2 separate regions of the Homo sapiens genome follow, and region 1 is linked to region 2. Evidence: promoter capture Hi-C in 16 types of primary human blood cells and fetal thymus (Javierre and others, 2016). All regions are on one chromosome and are shown on one strand. The core of a region is centred on a gene start or on the middle of the fragment in contact, and the rest is flanking DNA. Distances in the headings are between cores, read along the strand shown.

Region 1 (6,551 bases), core at 17-2,516, 550 kb after region 2:
GGGTTTTTTTGAGACGGAGTCTCGCTCTGTTGCCCAGGCTGGAGTGCAGTGGCGCGATCTCGGCTCACTGCAAGCTCCGCCTCCCGGGTTGACGCCGTTCTCCTACCTCAGCCTCCCGAGTAGCCGGGACTACAGGCGCCCGCCCCCACGCCCGGCTAATTTTTTGTATTTTTAGTAGAGACAGGGTTTCACCGTGTTAGCCAAGGATGGTCTTTATCTCCTGACCTCGTGATCCGCCCGCCTCGGCATCCCAAAGTGCACTCCAGGTTTTAATTACCTCTCGGGTGATTGTGGTGCACGCTCAAGTTTGAGAACCTCAGCTGTACCCAATTACTTTAGGTGGGCAAGGGCTTTCTAGAAGATCAAACACTTCAAACACCTGGCTTCAGCTCACAAGCACGGGACAAAAGCTCTCGGTCCTCTTCCTTGTTCTCCGCGGGGTTTGTAGTATGAATCTCAGGTCACAAACTCGGACTATCACCTTAATTCAGACCCTCCCTCCCGGAGTGATCTAGGTCGTGTGTCGTCTCTCCTTCTCCGCTGTTGCAGCACAGATGGAAATGGAATGGGTCTCGCTTGCAGTCTGTCACGACCTCCACTGACTTCTTCAGGGTGGTCGCTCGCGGTGGTCCTAAGGCGCTCTCATCCTCCACACCTCGCTGGGGGACCGGCGATCTCCTCCAAAGGGTCGCCCCAAACCCCGGCCGCGCCACCCCCAGCTCCAGGGGACCAGCAGCTGGCAGCTCCGCTCTCCCACCCTCAACAATGCCGGGTTTCCTCGCTTCTCCGGCTTTTACAAGAGGTCGGGAGAACGTTTGAATTGTGGTTGCTTCTTCTTTGAATCTTGCAACATTCCTGAAAGCCCTACGGAACCGAAATTTGGAGAGAACACAAATAACAAGTCTAAAAATTATCTTGCCACAGGATAGTAGGTGCTTCCTACCATTACCTAAGTAATTTGACACCATATATTATTTAATACACTTCAGGGTTATACATAAAGGTAAAATGTGAAAGCTTGCAACTAATAATTACAGCAATAAGCAAACACATGTTTTTCCTCTTTAGTTTCGCTTTTTAAAATTATCAAATTATTTTTATGGACACAGTAATCAAAATAGAAACAATTTAGCCTAGGAAATTTAGCAAGACTCCATCTCTACAAAAAGTTAAACAATTACTTAGGTGTGGTGGCTGGTACCTGTAGTCCCAGCTACTCCGAAGGCTGAAGTGGGAAAATTGCTTGAGCTGGGGAGGTAGAGGCTACAGTGAGCTGATCACACCACTGCATTACAGCCTGGGCAACAGAGACCTTGTCTCAAAACAAGCAAACAAACAAATATATTTTACATTTTTAAAAAACACCCACATAACCCTATCACAAAAAAATCCACCAAGCTAATATTTTCATATTCTTTTCCCATTTTAGTATGTATATATCAGTACACATATTTTATGTCCTGCCCTTCTCACTTATTATTGATTTCCATGTTACCAAGTCACCTTGTTTCCATATAAGCTTTATGAAATTAATTTACAGGAACTACATGACACTGATTATAATATGCACATATCCTTCAACCTATTATCCACTCCTCAGATTCTACTTAAGTATTCTTTTTTAAGTATACTACAGTCTTTTCTCCCCTGTAAGTTTTTCATTTCTTCCCACATTTAGAGGAAACAATGCTTTCCACATCTTACTGCACCCCCTGGCTCTCTTCTGCTCAGTAACAGCAACTGTCTCAGTCAAGCGCCTCTCTGTGGAACACTGCTGTTCCTTCACAGACAAAGCCATAAAATCAGTGAAAAGCAGAGCCAGCTGCTCGCCCACTGCTAGAGGAAGAGGTCATCTCTCTTGCCTTTTATCCCATCTCAAAACATGTTATCCCTCTAATGCCTTTAGAGTTCCCTGGACTGGGCATACAGAGGTGTCCTCAAAGTGTTTTCAGAACTCTGATAATATAGGAGCAAAATCTGCTGAATCTTCCTTCCTAGAAACAAAAGTGATAAGGCCCAACCTTGAAATCTAGATGAAAATCCTGAATGTAACTTCATCTTTCAAGTTTCTGCAGTGGTTTCCAAAATGCATTTCACAGGGAGCTGTTTGGCATAGGTCAATGAAGAATGGATTTTCTGTTCCCAGAACCTTAAAATATTTATACTCTGTGCATATTCCAGAAATCAACAATAGCCCCCTACTGCCCATCACCAATTCTTCCATAAATAGATAAAGCACCTAATAGGTAACTCCCTGACAGTGGCTAGAATCAAGTGTTCATTTAATGGCCCCTTAGAGTTTCTCAGAAGTTTCTGGAGAAAATGGGAAGAATGATGTTAAAGTGCAGTCAGGTGTCACTTAACAGGAACATCTGAGAAATACGTCACAATTTCACCATTATGTAAACATCTTATGCTGTACTAAACCTAGATAACATAGCTTACTACACACTTAGGCTACATGGTATAGCCTATTGCTTCTAGGCTATAAACCCATACAGCATGTTGCTGTACTGAATGTGGCAGGCAATTGTAACACAATGGTAAGTATTTGTTTATCTAAATATATATAAACATAGAAAAGTTAAAGCATTGCATTATGACATTACGATGGCTTATGACAGCTATGATGTCACTAGGAAATAGGAATTTTTCAATTTCATTATAATTTTATAGGAGCACCGTCATATATGTGGTCAAATGTTGACCAAAACATTACTATACAGTACCTGACTATAGTTCCTTTGCTTTATCCCTGACTCCTACTCCAAAGTTTGGCTCTATCAACTGAGCAAAAGATAGAGGAAAAAATACTGTTTTCTTTCACTATGAAGGTAAAAAATATAACAAAGTCTTCTCGGAAAAATTCCTATAAAATCCAAGGTTAGAACATTTGGAAATAGCAAAAAAGATTATTGGGTATCTCAAATGGAAAACTAAGCACTATTTAGAACCCACCTTTCAGGTTATCTGATTGTACCTTTCCATTGCTTTTGAATTATTTTACAACTCTGTAAATTGTCAATAAGTGATAACAATGCAAAGTTAGTGTTGTTTACAAAGACATTTTGTTAGAGATCCAATTTTCTGCCCCCTGTTGAAAAAGTCAGTTTCTCCATCCATTTGTAAATTCATTTCAGTATTGCTTTGCTCCACATAAATTTGTGCTTCTTTGACTTCTCCTTTGAACTCATTGTTTAACATCTTACTATTTCTTCATTTATAATGACTTAAATAAAATCTTTAACACATGTTCATTTTATATCTGTATAGAGTCATAATTTTACCCCTCTGTGAAAATCATCCTTAGCCAGGCACAGTGACTCGTGCCTATAATTCCAGCACTTTGGGAGGCCAAGGCGGGAGGATCACTTGAGCCCAGGAGTTTGAGACCAGCCTGGACAACATAGTGAATTCTCTGTGTTAATTTCACTTTTTAAAAAAAAAATTTTTCCCCTCGTACAAACTCTCAGTCTCCCTGTGACTGAACATCACCAATGATGTTCTGAAAGACTCAGGTGAAAAGTGAAGGATTGAGGTAGAATTTGTTGTCTGAGAACAGATCTAACAGCCAGAACAAATAAGTCCTGCATAGGAAGCCAAGTTGGGAGCCAGCGAGGAAGGATAAGGGGGCAGGGACTCAAAGTAGGTGGTCCACTTTCCCTTTGGGGGTAATTTCATCCTTTGGGGGTAATTTCATCTCTACAAAAAATAAAAATAGAAATAAAAATAAAAAATTAGCCAGATGTGATGGCACATGCCTGTAGTCCCAGCTACTCAAGAGGCTGAAGGGGGAGAATTGCTTGGAGGTCAGGGCTGCAGTGAGCCGTGATTGTGCCACTGCATTCCTGCCTGAGTGACAGAGCAGTGCCACTGTGACAGAGTGTGCCACTGCATTCCTGCCTGTCTCAAAAAAAAAAAAAAGTGAAAATCATCCTTTAACAAGGTCAAGCCTTCCAATTTCAATAAGAGGACTGGGAAAATCTACCCCTACGTTCAAAGAATTGCTAAATAAAATACAACAATAATTCTCTTGAGTAGCTAAACTCACAAGTTATAAAGGAGAATCTCCAAGTGCCAGAGTGAAGAAGGAATGGAAAACTGAGCACAGCAGATAATCCTGTGGCTGTCCTAGAAGCTACAAAGGGACTAGAGATAAACTCTTGAATCCACAAAGGTTAGGGAGGTGAAGGTGAATAAATTGAGATCTTTGAGTTAAAAAGTGGACCAGCATGAAATGTATCTACTACCAAGTCAGAAAGATGCTTAGGAAGCTTATCTTCCTCTTTTCTGGACTTTGGAGTCCAGAAAATAAAACGTATTTATTTATTTGAATTTTAAAACTTTGGGCCTAATTACCTCAACTCAGATCTGGTGTAAAATTATTGTTATTATTATTATTATTTGAGACAGAGTCTTGCTCTGTTGCCCAGGCTGGAGTGCAGTGGCACAATCTCAGCTCACTGCAACCTCTTCCTCCCGGGTTCAAGTGATTCTCCTGACTCAGCCCCCCGAGTAGCTGGGATTACAGGTGCCGGCCACCACACCCGGCTAATTTTTGTATTTTTAGTAGAGACGGGGTTTCTCCATTTTGGCCCAGCTGGTCTCAAACTCCTGACCTCAGGTGATCCACCCACCTAAGCCTTCCAAAGTGTTGGGATTACAGGCGTGAGCCACCGCACCCAGTCCGGTGTAAAAATTTTAGAATCCAAGAACTTTAACCCCCAAACCTCGGCTGAAAAATTAACATAAAATAATGTGAGATTAGCAATATCCTTGGGTCCCATGGCTCTTTGCAAAGCCAATGCCCGTTTATGAAAGAATATTTCTACAACTCAAGCCACTGACAATTTTCAAGGAAAACACAGCCCCCACTAAAGATGGGCTACTGTAGAAAATTGTTAAAGCAATGAATTATTCCACCATAAGTGAGAGTCAGTAAACACAAGTACCAAAACTTGAGACAATAAAAAAAAACTGGAAGAAAATAAAATAATTATGTTTAAAATTATTAAAAACATGTTTTTAAAAAAATCACAACCTCTGGTATGAAGAAAGCCAAATTAAAAAAAATAATTAAAAAAGAAAAAGAAAACCCAAAGAAAATAAGACCTTATTTAAAAAACAAGGAAGATTGCAGAAAAAATCTTAAAAGGAATCAAATAGAAATTTTAGAAGTTAGCCGGGCATGATGGTTCACACCTGTAATACCAGCACTTTGGGAGGCCAAGGTGGGTGGATCACTTGAGGTCAGGAGTTTGAGACCAGCCTGGCCAACATGGAAAAACTCCGTCTCTACTAAAAATACAAAAATTAGCCAGGCGTGGTGGCGGGCACCTGTAATCCCAGCTATTCGGGAAGCTGATGGAGGAGAATTGCTTGAACCTGAGAGGAGGAGGTTGCAGTAAGCCGAGACTGTGCCACTGCACTCCAGCCTGGGCAACAAAGCAAGATCCTGTCTCAAAAAAAAAAAAAAAAGAAAGAAATTTTAGAAGTGAAAAGGAATTATCGGAACTTCAAAGCCACAAAAGACGAGCAAAACAACCCATTAGACCAAACTAAAGAGATCATTATCAAGCTAGGAGGCAGATGAGAAAATGACCCAAAATATTGCTGAGAGATAAAAAGAAGGGATTGCAATGAAGAGATTAGGAAACATAAAGACAACACGAGAAGTTTAAACATATTTTAATAGGAATTCTGGAGGGAAAGAAGAGAATTCTGGAAGGAAAGAGAGAGAAATTTGAAGAGATGAGCTAGGCACACAGTGGCTTGCATCTGTGGATCACTTGAGGCCAGGACTTCAAGACCAGCCTGGACAACATAATGAGACTCCCAATTCGACAAAAAAAAAATTTAAAAATTAACCGGGAGTGGTGGCACAAGCCTGTAGTCCTAGCTATTTGAGAGGCTAAGGTGGGAGGATGGCCTGAGCCTGGGAGGTCAAGGCTACAGTTAGCCCTGATGGTGCCAATACACTCCAGCCAGAGCAACAGAGAAAGACTTTGTCTCTGAAAAATAAAATAAAACAAAGAAATAAAAACGAAGAAATTTGAAGAGATAAAGGGCAGAAAAGTTTCTAGCCTTGGTGAAAGACATAAACCCCAGATTCAAAGATCACTATGTTCACAAAGTTAGAAAAGTAAAATAGACCTACTGTCCCACGTAACTTAGTGAAACTTCAAAACACCAAAGTCAAAGATAAAGTCTTTTAATACATTTTAAAGATGCTGAGAAAAAATATATATTACAAAGAAGGACAATAAACTGGCTAGGCACAGTGGCTCACACCTGTAATCCCAGCACTTTGGGAGGCTGAGATGGGCAGATCACTTGAGGTCACAAGTTCAAGACCAGCCTGGCCAACATGGTGAAACCCCATCTCTTCTAAAAACACAAAAATGAGCAGGGTGTGGTGGCACACACTTGTAGTCCCAGCTACTCAGGAGGCTAAGGTGGGAGGATCACTGAGTCCAGGGGGGTTGAGGCTGCAGTGAGCTGTGATTGTGCCACTACACTCCAGCCTTGGAAACAGAGCAAGACTCTGTCTC
Region 2 (5,768 bases), core at 182-2,681:
AGAGGACTGCAGGAAAAAAGTTGATGACCAGATGCCAATTCCCTACAAGAATTGTAGTCCACTGCGGGTATACGAGACCTTAAAGTACTACTATCAAGGACTGAGTTCTAAAGTTAGACTTTAAACCATGTTAAGTGGTAAAAGAATAATTAGCACCCTTAATAGGGGACCTGAATTTTGGTGCTTAATGGAAAGGGAGCGTGGTGCTAAGAAATAAAGAGAATGGTCTCGTATTTAGTACAATTATCATAATTTTAGAAACAGCCTTGGGCAGAAACAGGCAAAACAATAAGCTGGAGGTTTTGTGGCAAATATTCTCCAAACATATTGCAACCAACTCAAAACCATCAAGTCTCAAGAAAATCAGGCAATGTGAAGCATAAAACTGCATTAGTTCCTTTACTGCCACCACTAAAGAGGGAGGGACTTAGAGAAGTGAAGTGTGCTCCTGGTCTTCGCAGATAATTGAAAGCCCCCGAAAAGCACCCCTTTTTTGAGCTATGTTGCATAACTGGGGATAACCGTATATCGATGAATCTCCATATGAGAAGAGAAATCAATGGCAGTTCGCCATCTTGGAGAATTTAAAAAAAAAAAAAAAACAACCTATAGAGCTAGAGCTGAAGTCGAGATTCACGAATCCACCTACGCGGTCGGCGTACATCTCTCGCAAGCCCCAGAGGCCTGGACATCGGTAAACCTACGCAAAGTCGCTTCGAGAATCCCGGGGGCCGGGCCGGGGCCGCCGCCTCCCACAGCCGGAGGCGCGGGAGGCGCGCTGTCCGCGGAGCAAGAGCCGGCCAGAGAGCCTAGGGACCTCCACCCGGGGCCCGCGCGCCCCAGCCCGGATCCCCGACCCCCGCTTCCACCCCAGAACGTGCATAGCAAACCTCAGGGCTTCAAGAGAACCTAGGGGAACCGCACTAGGAGGAAAAAAGGAACCCCTCCCCTTGCCCTGGCCGGTGCGTGCCCCCTCCCCCAACCCGGGCACCTGGACCGACGCTGGGAACGCCGGGGGCGCCCGGCCAGGGCCAGCAAGGAGTCCGGCCGCCGCCCCCAGCCTGTCAGCGCAGCCCCGGGTGAGGGGGCGTCCCCGGGCCTCGGCCTCCCCGCCCGCCCGGCAGCCGCATCCTCGGCGCCCGCTGCCTAGCACACCTGCGGGCTCGGCCCTCAGTGTTCCAGCCCCGCGCTGCGGTGCCCCCGCGGCCGGCCACCCCGCTCCGGTGCAGGGACCAGGGTACCGGCCGCCACTGGTCCTCACCGTAATGCTCTGAAAGACGCCCCCGGCCGTGGCTGCCCAGACGTATTTGGCGTCGCAGTAGCCGACAATGGCGGCCTCCTGGCAGCAGCCATCGCACATCAGGTTATCCACGTAGCTCTGCCAACCGGCCATCTTCGAGCCCTTCGCACTGCAGCGCGGACGGCGAGGAGCAGCAGGCGCAGCGGCGGCGGCGGCGGTAGCGGGCGGCGGCGGCGCGGGGGGAGGCGGGGCGGGGGCGGGGAGGAGGCGGCTCTGCGCAGGCACCGACCGCCCCCCTCCCCGAGGAGCTGCGGCGGGAGGACGCGGGTTCAGCGATGAGGGACGAACCTCAGAGCGCGCTCGGCCGCCCGGCCGCCCGCAGCCGCGGGGCTGACAAACCAGCGGCGGGAGGCTGCGAAGCGGCTGTGCCTGTGGCGGCTGCTCCTTACCGCAGCGCCCTCCGTTTTCCGCGGACACGGCTGGGCGTGCGCGCGCGCGTGCGTGCGATCCTTCCGCGGCGCCCGGGCACGGAGGGTCCCGGGAAGGGCGGGGGGAGACTGAGGCGGGGGCGCGGAGGGATACCGCCCCGGGACAATCACGGCCGCCACGTGCGGGAGGCGCCGGCCGGGAGCGGTGGCGGGCCGAGCTTCGGACCTCGGGCCGGCGGAGAGGGTGGACCCCGCGTCGCTCTCGGCACCCCAGGAACAGCGGCGGCACGGACGCCTTGGAGCCCCGCGGCCGGGCCGCGATGTGCTTTTCTCCTGTGTTCGCTGCCCGGGATGCGGAATCTTGAGCCTCGGTGTCGGGTTACAGAGTTGTCCTGGTGACGGGATGCGGAGCGTTTCCTCCTTTTTGTTGTGGGGGCGGCTGGTGGCAGGGGCAGCTGGTGGCAGGGTTGCCCACGCTAATCTCCGAGTCTCTAAGGGCACCGTCTTTCCTGGATCCCTCTTGCGCCTCGTCCATAAAGGCAGACCCGCGGGCGCGCGCCGGCAACCTGAAATCAGAGCAGGCGTCCGTGGCGCTCAGGAACCTTGCTGAGCTTCGCCGATCTTTCATTGTTGCTTCATTTGGGTACCAAGGGCCTCTCATTCTGTGGATTCTTTGCCTGGAGGAGCCCCCTTAATGTTGCTAATCACGTGTGGTTAAATTGCTCGTAAATTCCGAACAAAACAAATAGCGACCTGTGTTACACTGTTTCTTGGTAACTGGGAAAGTTACTGGTGGCTTGAAGTATACGCAGAAAATACAAAGATTAAAAACTAGGGAAGAGTTCACTGAATGAACACCGTAACATTTCTGCTCTGCAGGGTAAAATAATTTCGGGACCCAGGTCTGGGAAAGATTTGTATTAACAAGGTAAACGGTGGGTAGAGTGCCTGAGAAGCTATTCGTATCGTCTTTGGTAGCCTCTGGGCACTAGGACTAGACATGGAATTAGGGGTCCCCCAACAATGACTTCAATTTTAGGTTAATAGAAACCATCTGCCACTTAAGGGAAAGAAAGCACCAAAATGTAGATAAGTTGATGTTCACCCTTAAAGTTATCGTGTGAGGTCATGATTTGTAGGAGGATTAAGGAATGTATCTCTGGAAAGGGCAAGAACGTTGCTTTTAAAAGTCTAATTGGTTCTGAAGTTTTATATTTTTTCTGCTGATTGCTTTAAAATGTTCAGCTACTAGAGAGAAAAAAAGTACAGTAAAAGAAACCCCCAAGTCAGAGACCTATCAGACTGAGAATATGTATTTTCTCATGTTCTAAAGATACAGAATACCTGTGTGGTGTAAAATGTGAACCAAAAATTGTTTCATTTTTGTAAGTGTGCCTCCCACCTGATTTAATTACACTTAATTGTTCTTGTTTATGACTCTGCCTTTTATGGTGATGTTGATCATTTTAGTCCTTCGATCATAGCACTGTATCATCTTAAAAGTTAATAATAGATTACTTGTAACACAGGCTCACTATGTGAGAATTCATCAAGCTGTATGTACATTTATTGTGCTCTTCATTGTATGTATAATTCAATAAATTGAAACAGTAAACGAAAAGGTAATTATAGAAAAAATACAGTGATAACTTGAAGTATGTTGAATTTTTATTAATTTACTCTGAAGGTTTTAAGATATAATTTCTAGACGTTACTATCTTATTGTTATAGCACAGAGTTGGAAATAACTACATTCTTTTCCTATTCTTTTATTGTTGGCTTTAAACAGTGAAAGAATTTGACCAACAATATTTTCTAATTCAAATCTCAAAAGATTCTAAAACACATTTCTTGGGTAAAATATTCACAAAAATTTAGAATTCTTGTCATTCTTCTATATTTTTCAAAATATAATTCATTTTAAATTACTGCTTACTTTTCCAACATGATGTTATTTTTCTAGAATTGCAAACAGTAAAATTTAAACAACTATGAAAAAAATTCTGTATAATAGATTAAATTTTACAGTTTCAATTTTTAGGTTATATATTCAAAGAGAGTCCATGTGCTGTCTTGGTTTTCAGTACTGTAATAAAGTAACCTGTGCTTTTTTGTTTGTTTGTTTATTGAGATGAGACTCCGTCACCAGGGCTGGAGTGCAGTGGCATGATCTCGGCTCACTGCAACCTCCGCTTCCTGGGTTCAAGCGATTCTCCTGCCTCAGCCTCCCAAAAGTAGCTGGGATTACAGACACCCGCCACTACGCCCAGCTAATTTTTTGTATTTTTTGTAGAGACGGGGTTTCACCATGTTGGCCAGGCTGGTCTCAAACTCCTGACCTCGTTATTCGCCTGCCTCGGCCTCCCAAAGTGCTGGGATTACAGGCATGAGCCACCATGCCCGGCCACCTGTGCTTGTTTTCTTTAGAACCAGCTTCCTTGCATGCTGCTTTATTTTCCATTTGTGTACAGTGATCCCTTCCTATTTCATCTAAGTGTTGCTTATACGTTTCAGAAAGTATAAATAGAGGTGGAATACTGAGCTTTAGTAATAACAATATTGGTTCACTTAAGTCCAAAGGAGTATCAGTGTGAGAAAAAGAATTGCCAATTTGTATCTTCCTCTACTTTTCTGAGAGTAAGTAATCCCTAGGATAATTGTAATATCTGGGCAGAAGTTTAGAAAAGTTGTGGCTGTGTTGTTGATACAAATAGCCAGAATAATGTAGCCATTAACAATCAGTAGCATATTTAAGTTTGGAGTGCATTATTATGCATTCTTTCCAGAATTATTTTATTCTTATTGAGTAAAGCAGAAACTGTGTAGTAAGCCACGTTCTTTAATGTGTAAGTCAAGTGGTGTCTGAACCACTTGAGTCCATGTAAAAATCATTTGAAATTTTAGCAAAACACAAACAAGAAATTATCTTTAAAATGTACACAACCTGATAATCATTGGGAGCAGGATCTAAAACTATACACAGTAATTACCCCCAAATTTAGTAAAACCATAATTAACCATCAGTTATTTAAAAATTTCACCGCATAGTTCATTTCTGAAAAAAGTATATGAATTATAAAATCAATATCACAGCAATAAAGTTTAGAAAATGGAGAAAAATCCTTAATCCCACAAGCTAATACAAATATCTTTTGAATGTATTCACTATGTATGATTTTTACAGTAAAGAACAAGGAGAACTTATAATTCTGCATTTGGCCATTTTACCCTGAAATTCTATGAATTTTTGCTTTTTATATTTTGAGGCTATTAGGAAAATGGAAATTTAAATTGTTATATTTTTCCTTTCTGATGAATTTATTCTTTATTATTTAGTAGTTGCCCTCTTGATCACCAATACTGCTTTTTGTCTTAAAATTTTTGTCAAATATTAAGGTAACATCCCAGCTCTCTTTTTATTGGTGTTTACCTTATATATCTTTTCGCTCCCCACCTCTCTTTCAACCTTTCTCTGTCCTTTTTATTTTGTGTCTCATAAACTTCACGCAGCTGGATTTTGTTTTTTTATCCAATATGGCAGTATAACCTTTAATTGGCAAGTTTATTCCATTTACATTCATTGTAATTATTGACATACATTTGGACTTGTTTGAACTAATTTTATTAGTCTCTTTTTTTTTCTATGCTTTTTTCTTCCTTGCCTTTAAAAAAAATGTCGGGCATGTGTGTTTTATTCTTTTTTTTTTTTCAAATTTATGCTACCAATTTTTCTTAGTGTTACCCTTAAATTTTTGCCTTGCATATTTAATACAATAAAGTTTTAAGTTAAATATCTTAAACACTACCCCTAGACAATCCAAAAACCTTAGAATGTTTTAAGTCTGGACACCTCTCTCCAGACTCTTACACAGATGTTTATGTATGTGTGTATATATATGTACTTACATGTTTGTATTTTATTTACTTACTATTCCTTTTCATATCTCAGATCATTCTATGATCATTTTTCTTTCTAAAGTACATCTTTTAGAAGTTCCTTTAATAGCAGTCTGTTGGTGAGAAACTATGTTTATCTGAAAATGTATTTATATCACTTTCATCCTCTGACAATGGGTTGGATCTACAATGCAAAATGGACA

The links. The method cuts DNA at HindIII sites, captures the fragments that hold promoters and counts their contacts. A CHiCAGO score of 5 or more calls a contact.
Region 1: a fragment that was not itself captured here is called in contact with the fragment with the promoter of PFN2 in region 2 in 3 of 17 cell types (M1 macrophages, megakaryocytes and endothelial precursors); the score reaches 7.6 in M1 macrophages.

Annotation. Positions count from the first base shown.
Region 1 is chr3:150,519,897-150,526,447 of GRCh38, forward strand. No RefSeq gene overlaps it. Among named protein-coding and RNA genes, the nearest start is that of SERP1, 23 kb to the right of the region's middle. RefSeq lists enhancers at 201-701, 702-1,202. The HindIII fragment of the contact is 502 bases long and covers 1,016-1,517 here.
Region 2 is chr3:149,969,464-149,975,231 of GRCh38, forward strand. PFN2 (profilin 2) reads right to left here and starts at 1,432. Exons shown (of 3, transcript NM_053024.4): 1 at 1,262-1,432. The coding sequence starts at 1,393. It overlaps LOC646903 (a long non-coding RNA gene), which reads left to right and starts at 1,816. Exons shown (of 1, transcript NR_036538.1): 1 at 1,816-3,779. RefSeq lists silencers at 628-887, 908-957, 968-1,207, 1,418-1,497, 1,728-1,787 and enhancers at 1,633-2,164, 2,165-2,695. The HindIII fragment of the contact is 10,546 bases long and covers 1-5,768 here.